4 separate regions of the Homo sapiens genome follow, and regions 1, 3 and 4 are each linked to region 2. The links are contacts of gene promoters, found by promoter capture Hi-C in blood cells and fetal thymus (Javierre and others, 2016). All regions are on one chromosome and are shown on one strand. Each heading gives the region's core, a stretch centred on a gene start or on the middle of the fragment in contact. The rest is flanking DNA. Distances are from core to core; before and after follow the strand shown.

What was found. The method cuts DNA at HindIII sites, captures the fragments that hold promoters and counts their contacts. A CHiCAGO score of 5 or more calls a contact.
Region 1: a fragment that was not itself captured here is called in contact with the fragment with the promoter of PLCE1-AS1 in region 2 in 3 of 17 cell types (naive B cells, total B cells and monocytes); the score reaches 8.7 in naive B cells.
Region 3: a contact is called between a fragment that was not itself captured here and the fragment with the promoter of PLCE1-AS1 in region 2, in 1 of 17 cell types (M2 macrophages). The highest score is 6.5, in M2 macrophages.
Region 4: a fragment that was not itself captured here is called in contact with the fragment with the promoter of PLCE1-AS1 in region 2 in 2 of 17 cell types (M2 macrophages and naive B cells); the score reaches 5.6 in M2 macrophages.

Annotation. Positions count from the first base shown.
Region 1 is chr10:94,427,934-94,430,835 of GRCh38, forward strand. All of the region lies in intron 1 of TBC1D12 (TBC1 domain family member 12), which reads left to right. Among named protein-coding and RNA genes, the nearest start is that of TBC1D12, 27 kb to the left of the region's middle. The HindIII fragment of the contact is 9,366 bases long and covers 1-2,902 here.
Region 2 is chr10:94,285,805-94,288,583 of GRCh38, forward strand. PLCE1-AS1 (PLCE1 antisense RNA 1) reads right to left here and starts at 1,266. Exons shown (of 4, transcript NR_033969.1): 1 at 1,037-1,266. The region is part of intron 22 of PLCE1 (phospholipase C epsilon 1); the gene reads left to right. The HindIII fragment of the contact is 4,167 bases long and covers 1-2,779 here.
Region 3 is chr10:94,466,428-94,469,295 of GRCh38, forward strand. The region is part of intron 2 of TBC1D12 (TBC1 domain family member 12); the gene reads left to right. Among named protein-coding and RNA genes, the nearest start is that of TBC1D12, 65 kb to the left of the region's middle. The HindIII fragment of the contact is 2,525 bases long and covers 161-2,685 here.
Region 4 is chr10:94,490,848-94,493,915 of GRCh38, forward strand. TBC1D12 (TBC1 domain family member 12) reads left to right here. Exons shown (of 13, transcript NM_015188.2): 4 at 2,518-2,600. Among named protein-coding and RNA genes, the nearest start is that of HELLS, 53 kb to the right of the region's middle. The HindIII fragment of the contact is 1,572 bases long and covers 973-2,544 here.

The DNA.
Region 1 (2,902 bases), core at 270-2,769, 140 kb after region 2:
TGACTTGCTAACATGAGTACACTTGGACTGTATTCTGGAAGGATAAGAAAATAAATTTGTATATTTGAATTGTTTAAAATGAAGGCATTTTGGCAATGTGTAGGATGGAAAAGATTAGGGATTAGTTGTGAAGCTCTTACATCTTGATTGTTGTATGGAGGACATGAACAATATGAATGTGATTAAAAAGAAAAGCAACTATGCAAGAGAGACCTGTTTCAAACACTTAGTAGTGTGACCTTGGCAAAGACTCTGTGGGGTCATCAGTCTGTCTTGGAAGTGGTAGGTTGGTGTATTGAATCCTAGGAGAATTTGATGAAAGCTGGCCAAGAGAAATGTTTGGAACTTCTTTTTTTTTTTTTTTTTTTTTTTAAGACAGGGTCTCACTGTGTTTCCCAGGCTGGAGTGCAGTGGCACAATCACAGCTTGCTGCATCCTCAACCTCCTGGGCTCAAGTGAGCCTCCCACCTCAACCTCTCGAGTAACTGGGACTATAGACGCATGCCACCATGCCTGGCTAATTTTTATACTTTTTGTGGAAATGGGGTTTTGCCATGTTAGACAGGGTAATCTCCAGTTCCTGAGGTCAAGTGATCCACCTGCTTCATTCAGCCTCCCAAAGTGCTGGAATTACAGGTGTAAGCCACCATGCCTGGCCTGTAAGTACATCATTTACTTAAAATTGTGCAGACAATATTTTTTTCTTACCTGACCTCATTACTGGATTGTGCACACAATTTGAGAATGCTTGTAGACAACCTGTGGCCCATTTGTGTAGGTTCATTGACTTTTTTTTGAGACAAAAATCTCACTGTTGCCCAGGCTGGAGTGCAGTGGTGCCATCAGGCTCACTACAGCCTTGACTTCGCAGGCTTACGTGATCCTCCCGCTTCAGCCTTCTGAGTAGCTGGGACTACAGATGCATGCCACCATGCCTGGCTGATTTTTTTTTGTAGAGACGGGGTTTCGCTATGTTGCCCAGACTGGTCTTGAACTCCTAGATGCAAGTGATCCTCCCGCCTTGGACTCTCAAAGTGCTGGCATTACAGACGTGAGTCATCATGCTCAGCAGGTTGATTGACTCTTAATAAAGAACTCTGACCTGGATAGTCTTTTTTTTTTTTAATTTAATTTTTAATTTTCTTTTTCTCTGAACACTCTCCAATGTTACGGATATTTTCTAAGGTCCCTAGAAGCTCTAAAATATTATTTATTACTTGAAAAATTGTAGCCTTTCAGCCTTGTAATTTCTCTTGTTTTGACAGAGTGGGTGATGTTGAATTTCCCTTTTTGATAGCTCTGATCTCAGAAAATATCTGGTTAGTTAAGTAATGTTTATTGAATAAAAATTCTCTACTTTTTTTTTAATTTTTAGGATTTGTAATAACAAAGACAAGATCCAAAAACAGCTTGAAAAAGAAAATTCTTGGAATTAAAAAAGCCTAAGTTATCTGGCAAAAAACCCTACTTTTTTTGCATATAGTCAGCTGAAAGTTTTTTCCAAGTGAAAAATGATTGAGGCTTGTAAAGAATGTTAGTAATCTTTGTGCCAGATCTTTAATCCAGAATACTCAAGGGTAACCAAAGTACTGAGTTTAGAGACAGTAGTTATACTTCTTTGAATTAATTATGTAGTCAGCTGTGGCATTCCATGGTCACTAGATAATGTTTTCTTTATGGCTTTTTATTCTTTGGGGAAATTAAAGTCCAGGAAGTTTTTATGTTTTCAGCCATCCAACTTCCCCTCTGTTATGATTTCTAATTTTTAAAACTGATTTTACTCTTTCAATTGATTCTATCCCCTCCACTTTTTTTTTTGAGACAGGTTCTTGCTCTGTCACTCAGGCTAGAGTGCAGTGGTACGATCTTGTGTTACTGCAGCCTTGACCTCCTGGGCTCAAGTGATCCTCCCGCTTCAGCCTGCCAAGTAGCTGGGGCTTCAGGTGCGTGCCACCACGCCTGCCTAATTTTTGCATTTTGTTTGTAGAGATGGGGTTTTGCCATGTTGCCCAGGCCGGTCTCGAACTCTTGGACGCAAGATACCCACCTGCCTTGGCCTCTCAAAGTGCTGGTATTACAGGTGTGAGTCACCGCACCCAGCCGAAAAGTATTCTATCCCCCCACCCCAATTTCTAAAAAAATAGATGGTGTCTTGCTATGTTGTCCAGTCTGGCCTCGAACTCCAGGGCTCAAGCAGTCCTCCTTCAGCCGCCTGAGTAGCCAAGACTACATGTGTGTGCCCAGTGTTGAATCCCCTTTTAATATACAAGTCTATTGAAATGATTATTAGAATTTATCCAATGAGTCTAAAAGGTTAAAATAGTCAAATTGATGTAAATGTTAAGCAAAATTAATTACTTTTTGGAGGGCTGGAGCTCACATTACTGTTGGCAGTAAGAAGATTCAGGATTAGGTAGTCACAATTTTCTATAGTGTCAAATTCCACAGTTTGAGAAACTATGGGATTTACATTCCTTTATCTCAGATACGTAAGTGGGTTTGCCAATTCTTAAAGATCCAAGCACTCTACATTCTGTTATTTAAAAAAGCATTAGTGGAGAATTTGCATGATATCAATAAATTTTGCCCCTTTTTAGTGAGCTTTAGCCTTTGATAAGGTATGGTAGGCAAATGGTCTGACTCTTAGGTCCTATGTAGCTTTTTTTGTGTGTGATAAAAGAAATGAAGAAATTTTAGGAGAATACAAGCACACAGATATGTGAAGCAAATGTTAACATGTATTAATAAGCTAGAGTCATTTACCCAACCTGTATTATAAAAGCCACTAAGGGAGAAGGCAGGGAAATGGTTGTATTAGTAGGCCTTTTCCCCTCTTTTCTCTTCTAATCCCCACATTAGCCTTTTCTTAGTGTGCCTCTTTTCTTTTTCAACTATATGTTTT
Region 2 (2,779 bases), core at 16-2,515:
GCGTTGAAGTGGAAGGAGAGATTTCCCCCAATTGACCGTTTTTAGAAGTACAGTGGACAGGCTGATGAACCACTTTCCAAAAACAGTGTCCTTTTCAATTAATGAATGGTAGACCTATGGCTCTGAAGCCTGTCTGTCTCCAAAGTCCTGCCCTTACCCGTTATACTGCCTGGCCTCTCTTGTTTCGGGCTGTTTTCAATGAGGTACTCAATTATGTGTCCCACAAATGGGGCACCAGGGGGTAGAAGACAAACAAGAAAGTCCCTAAGTACATGGAACTCAGAAAAATTCATCTCCTCATACTAAGAAAAAGGATTCTCTTGAATATAATTTCTGAGAACAGGAAAGTGGCTGAGATAGGAGGATCAGTCTAAATGTTAGTAAACAGGATTTATAGACTTGGCCTGGAGAGAGGCACTAAAATGCCCTCATCTTTTCAAGATGGGCTGAACTCAGGTCCCTCCCAGAGCATATCTTAAGCACCTGGTCTCACACAGTGCCTGACAAATGGGCCAGAGGCATTGGGCTATTTAAAAATTAGGCAAACTGGGTGTAGTGGTGCGTGCCTGTAATCCCAGCTACCAGGGAGGCTGAGCAGGAGAAATGCTTGAGTCTAGGAGTTCAAGCCCAGCCTGGGCAAGATATATAGCAAGACCTCATCTCTAAAAAATAATAATTAAATTTTTAAAATCACAGTTAGGTAATAGTGAGCTTTTCACACATCAGAGTAAAAAAAATCATATTATTTAATGATATGATAAAAATCATATATTTCATGATATTAAAATCATTTTAATTGTAAGTTTTCTCCTATAAGCTGTTTTTAAACTTTTGGCAGCTGCTACTGCTTGTCTGCTAGCAAATCCTGTTGAGGAGGATATGAATCAATAAGTAGCCAGCAAAGATTTCAGAGAAATGCAGGAACCTGGCCATTTAAGTTTAATTTCACAGACCATGACCTCATGGCATATAAGTACAATATGACCATTATTTGCAACTGGCAAAACTCTTTTTCTGATGGAGTAAAACCCTTTACCTGTCAAAGAGCCTGGAGGCTGGCATGTCCTTCATTGCAGGAACAAGGATGAGCGCCACTCTGTCCAAGAATCACACCCACTGCAGCTCTTATTCTTTATAAATGCAGCGGATGCCACACTCGGACCATTCCACTGGCTTTGTCTTTTCTTCTCAAGCACTCAGTAAATAAGGAGCACAAATTCCCAAAGATATTTGAAGTCTGTGTGAAAGATAAAGTCTCTGTACCAGTAGAGAATCGTGGAAGATCAGGAGGTCATGTGATAGAGCTTCTAAGCATGTGGTTGTTCGGCTTATTTTAAAAATTCCAAGTATGTTGTTTTTTAAAAGTGTTCACATAGCATACATTTCTTCATAGGTATAGTGTATTTTCTCTTTAGAAAAATGAAATTTCTTACATTTTTTCCCTGATTTTATTTCCTGTCTCAAAATAGCTAAATTGGATTGCCAGAATGATTGTTATAATACCTTCTAAATATTTCTTTTTACAATCATTTGTTTGATGCACATGAGGAAAATACTATAAACTGTTCATTTTGCTATGCCGTTTATTTTAATTTTGCTACATTATCAATTTCAGTGTATGTCACCTTTCATCATCCCAAGTCCCTTCTTACAAGCCATATGCAAAAAAAAAAAAAAAACCCTTCATTGCAATGAGGCACTCAACAATCATGTGGTATGAGGCCCACAGAAAGGAAGGAACTTCCCCACCATCAGAAGCTAGGTCAGTGGCAGGGCAAGAGCCAGAATTCCTGTCAGCTCCCAGGGGTGGGCTCTTTGCACCACACTATGGAAGTAGTTGAATTTTTTCGACCTGCTTTCTCTTAGGGTTTATTTCTCGGTTGCATTTAGTACTTCTATTGTCCTGGGTTTTTTTCTCCTTCTAATAGAAAAAAAAAAGGATATGGTATTTTTATTTTATGACCCCATCAACCTAGTTTCCAATATCTTCCCACAAGCTCCCCTGCATCCCCCACTCTCCTCAGGCACCTACATACACTGCCGTCTTTCTAGTGCCAGGCCATTGCTCAGAGTGTTCTCAACCTTGCCTGGCCTTCCTTCTCCCCTTGGCCCCATTCCAAATTCCAAGGACGGGGTCCTTGGAAAGTATCTGAGACTCTTCAACTCATTGTGACATCTCCTTTCTGGAGCTCCTTCATTTATAGGCATATGTTTGGGTACCTCCTAGATACCCAGTTGTTCCACAGTTAGGAGTGCAACCTTGTTCTTTTATTTTGAATTTTTTTATTTTGACAGCTTTAGTGGTACAAGTAGTTTTTGGTTACATGGATGAATTGTATAGTGATGAAGTCTGGGATTTTAGCGCACCTGTCACCCAAGTCGTGTAAGTCATACCCACCAGGTAGTTTTTCATCCCTCACCTCCCTCCCACTCTCATTCTGAGTCTCCAATGTCCATTACGCTGCTCTGTATGCCTTGACATACCCATAGCTTAAAAGATTACAACCCTGTAAGACAAAAATTATTCAGTGGTGACAAGATCATCAGATAAGATCGTGGGTCAGAGACCTGGGCTCTTGGCTACCATGCTTTGTGATTTGGCCAAGGCAAATCTCTCTGAGCCTTTCTCACTCAAAAGTGGAGTTGACTAGAATCCTTGTTTACTACACTTGCTGAAATCTCCAGAATCACCCAGGCCACTTGATTAACATACCCAGTCTCAGGCCTCTCTACCAGGGATTTACATTTGGAAGGCACTGGGAGGTCCTGGTCCCTGGGT
Region 3 (2,868 bases), core at 173-2,672, 180 kb after region 2:
ATATATGTATATACATACACACATATATATAGTGGCATTTACAAGTTCACAGCATTTTAATTCTTACTGAAAGGCTGGATTTTATTATTAGCAACACTTACTTTCAATTGCTTTCCTTAAAATCACTGGCACACTTCATCCTTTTTTGTTTGTTTTAATAAGCTTTTTATTTTGGAATAACTTTAGATTTACAGAATAACTTTAGATTTTGGAATAACTTTATTATTGTGATACTGAAAAAACAATACAGAGAATTCATAAATACCTCTCATTCAGTTTCTTCTAATGTTAGCATCTATTACCCTGTACATTTGTCAAAACTCAGAAAATTGACTTTGGTAGATTACTATTAATTAAACTCCAGACTTCACTTGGATTTCACCAATTTTTCTATTAAAGTCCTATTTCTCTTTCAGTGTCTAATCCGGAATATCACATTATATTTTGCTATCACAATTCCTTAGTCTCTATGGCCTTTGACAGTTTGTCATCTTTCCTTTTTTTAATGAACTTGACACTTTTGAAGAGTACTGGTCTATTATTTTCTAGAATGGTCTTCAATTTAGGTTTCTCTCATGATTTCCTTATGACTTGAGTGGGTTTATGGTTTTCTGGGAGAAATATCATGGAGATAAAGGGCCCGCTTTGTCTAATTTTTAGAAAATGACTGCCACTGCAGTTTGCAGTCAGTTTTTCTTTTAAATAAAAATAGTGTTCTTGAAAAAGACATTTGTTCAGTTTAGAACTCAAATAATTGCACAAGTGCTTTTCCTTTGCACAAGTGTGTAGTCGAGTTTTTTTTTGTTTTTGTTTTTGTTTTTTAAGACAGAGTTTCGCTGTTGTTGCCCAGGCTGGAGTGCGGTGGCGCTATCTCAGCTCACTGCAACCTTTGCCTCCTGGGTTCAAGCGATTCTCCTGCCTCAGCCTCCCGAGTAGCTGGGATTACAGGCATGCACCACCACGCCCGGCTAATTTTTGTATTTTTAGTAGAGATGGAGTTTCTCCATTTGGTCAGGCTGGTCTCGAACTTCCGACCTCAGGTGAGCCGCCCGCCTTGGCCTCCCAAAGTGCTGGGATTACAGGCATGAGCCACTGTGCCCGGCCCTGTACTTTTCCTTTTGTCACGCAGAATGTTAAGATGTTTACTCATATATAAATATTTAATACAATTAATAATTTTTACTGTTTTGTCATAGACATACTTAAATGAATCTGGCCACTCCCCCTCTTTTTTTTAAACCTTCAATGCATGTCCTGAATAATACAGTCATCACAGTGCTATTGCTTTGATTTGTGATAGGGCACTGACAGTTTTTGTTTTTGAGACAGGGTCTCTATTGCCCAGGTTGGGGTGCAGCAGTGAGCTCATAGCTCCCCACTCTCATGCGCGTACAACCATACTTGGCTAATGTTTTTATTTTTTGTAGAGACAATGTCTCACTATATTGTCCAGGCTACCTACAGTTTTATTCAGCATTGCTGAGCACCATTAGTACAAATGTCAATGCAGTGACAAACTATTAACACTCTTAGGAATATAGCTCTGACTTTGCAGACCCCATGAAAGCATGTCCTGAACACTTAGGTCTTCTAATTACACATCGAGAAACTGCAACACTAGGGCTTTTATGATATTTAATTTATCATGGTCTACCTTCAAATAACTTTATAGCACTTGAGTATAATGGAAGAACCTTACAACAGTGTACTGCTGTTACCTCCTTTCTAACTTTTGTGCTGTAAACTGCTTATTTACATTTACCAGTATATTTCTGTATTAAATGACCAAATATTCTCTAACTTTAAGAAATGAGAAAACTGTCTTTTTGTCTATATTTATTATTTTTGGTGCTTTTTATCTCTTTGTGTATATTCATGTTTTCATGTGATACATACTTTCTGCCTGAATAATGTCCTTGAAATTATATTGCTGGTCTACTGACAACAAATTCTCTTAGCTATTGCTTGTCTGAAAATAATTTTATTTTGCTTTCACTTATGAAAGATATTTCCTCTGGTATAGGATTCTAAGTTAATAGATGTTCCCTCTCCATTTTTTTTTCCTTCAGCAGTTTAAAGATTTTTCTATTGTCTTTTGACTGGAATAATTTTAGGGGAAAAGTCTTGTAATTGTTTTCACATTCAGTCTTTTCAATATAAGTGCTTTTTTTCTGGCTGCTTTTAAAATATTCTTCTTACCATTATATTTTAGCAAATAATTATGATGTCTTTTGGTGTGGTTTTATCTGTATTCTGCTTAGAATTTATTGAACTTCTTGGGTCTGTGGGTGTAGTTTGACAACATTTCAGCCATTATTGTCTTAAATATTGTTCTCCCTCGTACCAACACTCCAATTACACATAATTTAGGCTGCTTCATAGTGTTCCCTAAAGCTCTGCTTATATTTCTTCAATTTTTTTCCCTTTCTTTGCTTAATTTTGGATAGTTTCTGTTGCTCTGTTCTCAAGTTGATTGATAACAGTGCTACAGTTGTTAATATGCAAGATCTGACGTGAATATTTTACTGGGTGACATTAATCACAGATTAAACATTGCAGAAGAAAGTAAGTTCATTGATAATTTCTTAGTTATGGGATAAATTAGCTCCAAAGAAAAAATTACGTTAGATGTGAACTAAAAAAGTTTATAAATAAGCCATAAAGGAGTCAAACTGATGCACAAGAAGCTTAACTTCTGGACAGAACAAAATCAAGTATTATTCAGCCCTCAGCCGTCTAAAATTCACAATGTCTTACATCCAACAAAGAGACCTTTTGGGTTTTTCCTGAATGTTTTGTGTATTCCCAGTGATGACTTTTTATTCTGGTGGTGATAATGTGAATAATTCTCACCCCTGGGTAAGCTCT
Region 4 (3,068 bases), core at 509-3,008, 210 kb after region 2:
TTAAGAATGTCCTATTTTTTTTTTCTCTGGTGGTTCTTTCTCTGGCTGTAGTTAATCACACACATGCACAGATCAGTACTCAGCCAAAACCTTGAGAGGACTCTCTGCAGCTCCCTTCTTTTCTGGTTTTCTGGTTTGTAACTTTTAGCTGTCTTGGACTCTCCAACTCTAAACTTTCTCCTCACCTTAGGATTGATGGACCACTGAGACCTGGAAATGTCAGGTACTTGTAGGGTTACCTTGCTTATTTCTTTTCTCTTAAAGATCACTTTCTTGTGCTGCCCAGTGTCTGTTGTCTGGAAACTATAGTTTAATATATTTTGTCCATTTTCTAATGATTTAAGGGGAAAGGGTAAACCTGGTTTCTTTTATTCCATTATGGCCTGAAGCAGAGGTCTTAACTTTTATTCCTCCCTCCTACAACCTACCAGATCAACTGACTAATTTGAGAAGAGGAGGTAGAATTTATAATTTGAAAATTTGTCACATACCTTTTTCCACACTAGCCTGTTGAAAAGAAAAGACTGACTCCTAAAACTGGACACTATTATGATTATATTTGGATAAGTGATAATATACCAGTGTATTTCTTTTTGCATTTTTTATATCTAAATCACTGACTCTGTGAAGCCATTGATTTGATAAACCAAAATACGGTGTAGTAGTTACCCCTTATTGGCGGTTTTGCTTAAGGCAATTTCAGTTACCTGTACTCAGCTGTGGTTTGAAAACATTAAGTGGAAAATTCCAGAAATAACTTTTAATTTTTAAATTGCGTGCCATTCTGAGTAGCATGATGAAATCTCACTGTCCTGCTCCATCCTGCTAGGGACATGAGTTCAGTTTATCTGCACTATATACACTACCCATCTGGTAGTTCAGTTAGTAACCTTCTTGGTTGTCAGATCGACTGTTGGTGATACCACAGCGCCTGTGTTCAAAGAACCCTTATTTTATTAGTAATGCCCCCAAAGCTTAAGAGTAGTGGTGCTGACAATTCAGATATGCCAAAGAGAAGCTGTAAAGTTCCTCCTTTAAGCAAAAAGGTGAAAGTTCTCAAATTAATAAGAAAAAAAAATCATATGCTGAAGTTGCTAAGATCTGTGGTAAGAATCAGTTTCCTATCCATGAAATTGTGAAGAATGAAAAAGAAATTTATGCTAGTGTTACTGTTGCACCTTAAATTGCAAAAGTTACTACCATAGAGCACGGTGTTCAGTTATGATTGAAAAGACATTAAATTTATGGGTGGAAGATATGAACAAAAATGTGTTCCAATTGATGGCAACATATTGTGCTGGGTTAACTTAATCTCAATTAAATTAAACTTTATCATAGTTATGTATGTATAGGAAAAAACCTGGTATATATAGGGTTTGTTACTGTCTGAGGTTTCAGGCATCCACTGGAGGTCTTGGAACATAACTCCTAAGGATAAGGGGGGACTACTATGTATGCAAATGATGGATGATCCAGTTTTTTAGTTAAAATGTTGTCTTAAAACTCTAATTAGTGGAAAGCAGTTTGACAGTTTATTGTAAAGGTATATCCACACTTACTATATAACCCAAGACTTTTGTTTAACTAAGGGAAATGAAAGCAAATGTCTACACAAAAACTTGATGTTAATTTTTACAGTAGTTTTATTAATAATGGCCTCAATCTGGAAACAATCCAAGTGTCCACCCACATGGATAAATGGAATACTACTCAGCAATTAAAAGGAATACATTACTAATACAACAACATGAATGATTTTCAAAACTGTGCTGAGCAAAAGAAGCCAGACATTAGTCCTTCAATGTAAATTAAAACAAAAAAAGCCAGACACAAGAGTCTATAAAATTCTTGAAGAGGAAACAAATTAATCTGTAGTGATAGAAATCAAAGAAAGAATTTTGTGAGGGGTACCACAAGGAAACTTAGTGGAATGATGGGAATGTTCTATATCTTGATTGGTTAGTTAGCTGCACAGGTATATACATTTGTCAAGACTCATCAAACTATTCTTAAAATATGTTTATTCATTTTATTATATGAAAATTATATCTGAAAAAAGTTGACTAAAGAAAACTCTAGTAAGTGAGTTTAACAAATAACCTAAAAATATTGACTGAAATCTGAAATGGACTGGGCTCAGTGGCTCACACCTGTAATCCCAGCACTTTGGGAGGCTGAGTCAGGAGGATTGCTTCAACCCAGGAGTTTGAGACTAGCCTGAGCAACATAGTGAGACCCCATCTCTATTTTTTTAATCTGAAATGTTTAAATATATACCAACTTATATACACATGACATAGAACTACACACACACACACACACACACACCACATATTAACAACCTGGATTCTGATTCTGTTCTAAAATGCACAGTTCTTTTCAGCCTTTCACTTCCTTAATGTATGAAATGAGGTTAGTTTAGAAATTCTTTGCATCTGGGTGTAAAAACAAATAAGTTAGTAAGTTGAAAGTTAATCTTTTAAAAATTGTCTTGACTTAAGTAATTTTTTTTTCCAGAAATCTTCCTGCCAAATCTGTGGAAGAAGCTTTACGTCACCGACAAGAATACGATGAGATGGTGGCTGAGGCTAAAAAACGAGGTATAAAATTTAACTCCAAATGGTATAATTTTCTGATTTTAATAAGAAGATGGATGGTAAAATTCATCAAGTCTGTCTTCAAGATGATACTGAATTCTTTTTTTTATTTCTTTTTTCGTTTCTTTTTTGAGTCTTGCTCTGTTGCCCAGCCTGGTATGCAGTGATGCAGTCACAGCTCACTGTAGCCTGACCTTCCAGGCTCAAGCAGTCCTTTTACCTCTCAGCCTCCCAAGTAGCTGGGACCACAGGCACGTGCCACCATGCTTGGCTAGTTTTTTGTATTGTTTGTAGAGATGAGGTTTTACCATGTTGCCCATGCTTTTATTTTTCTCTACTATTTTTATAATTAAGTTTGTTCTAAAGGAGGAATAAAATGACATACCAGGATCATAGTTTTTCTGCATGTACTTTTACAGAATAGGAGGAATCTTGAAATTACAGTCATAAAACTTGGACTTCTACTATCTT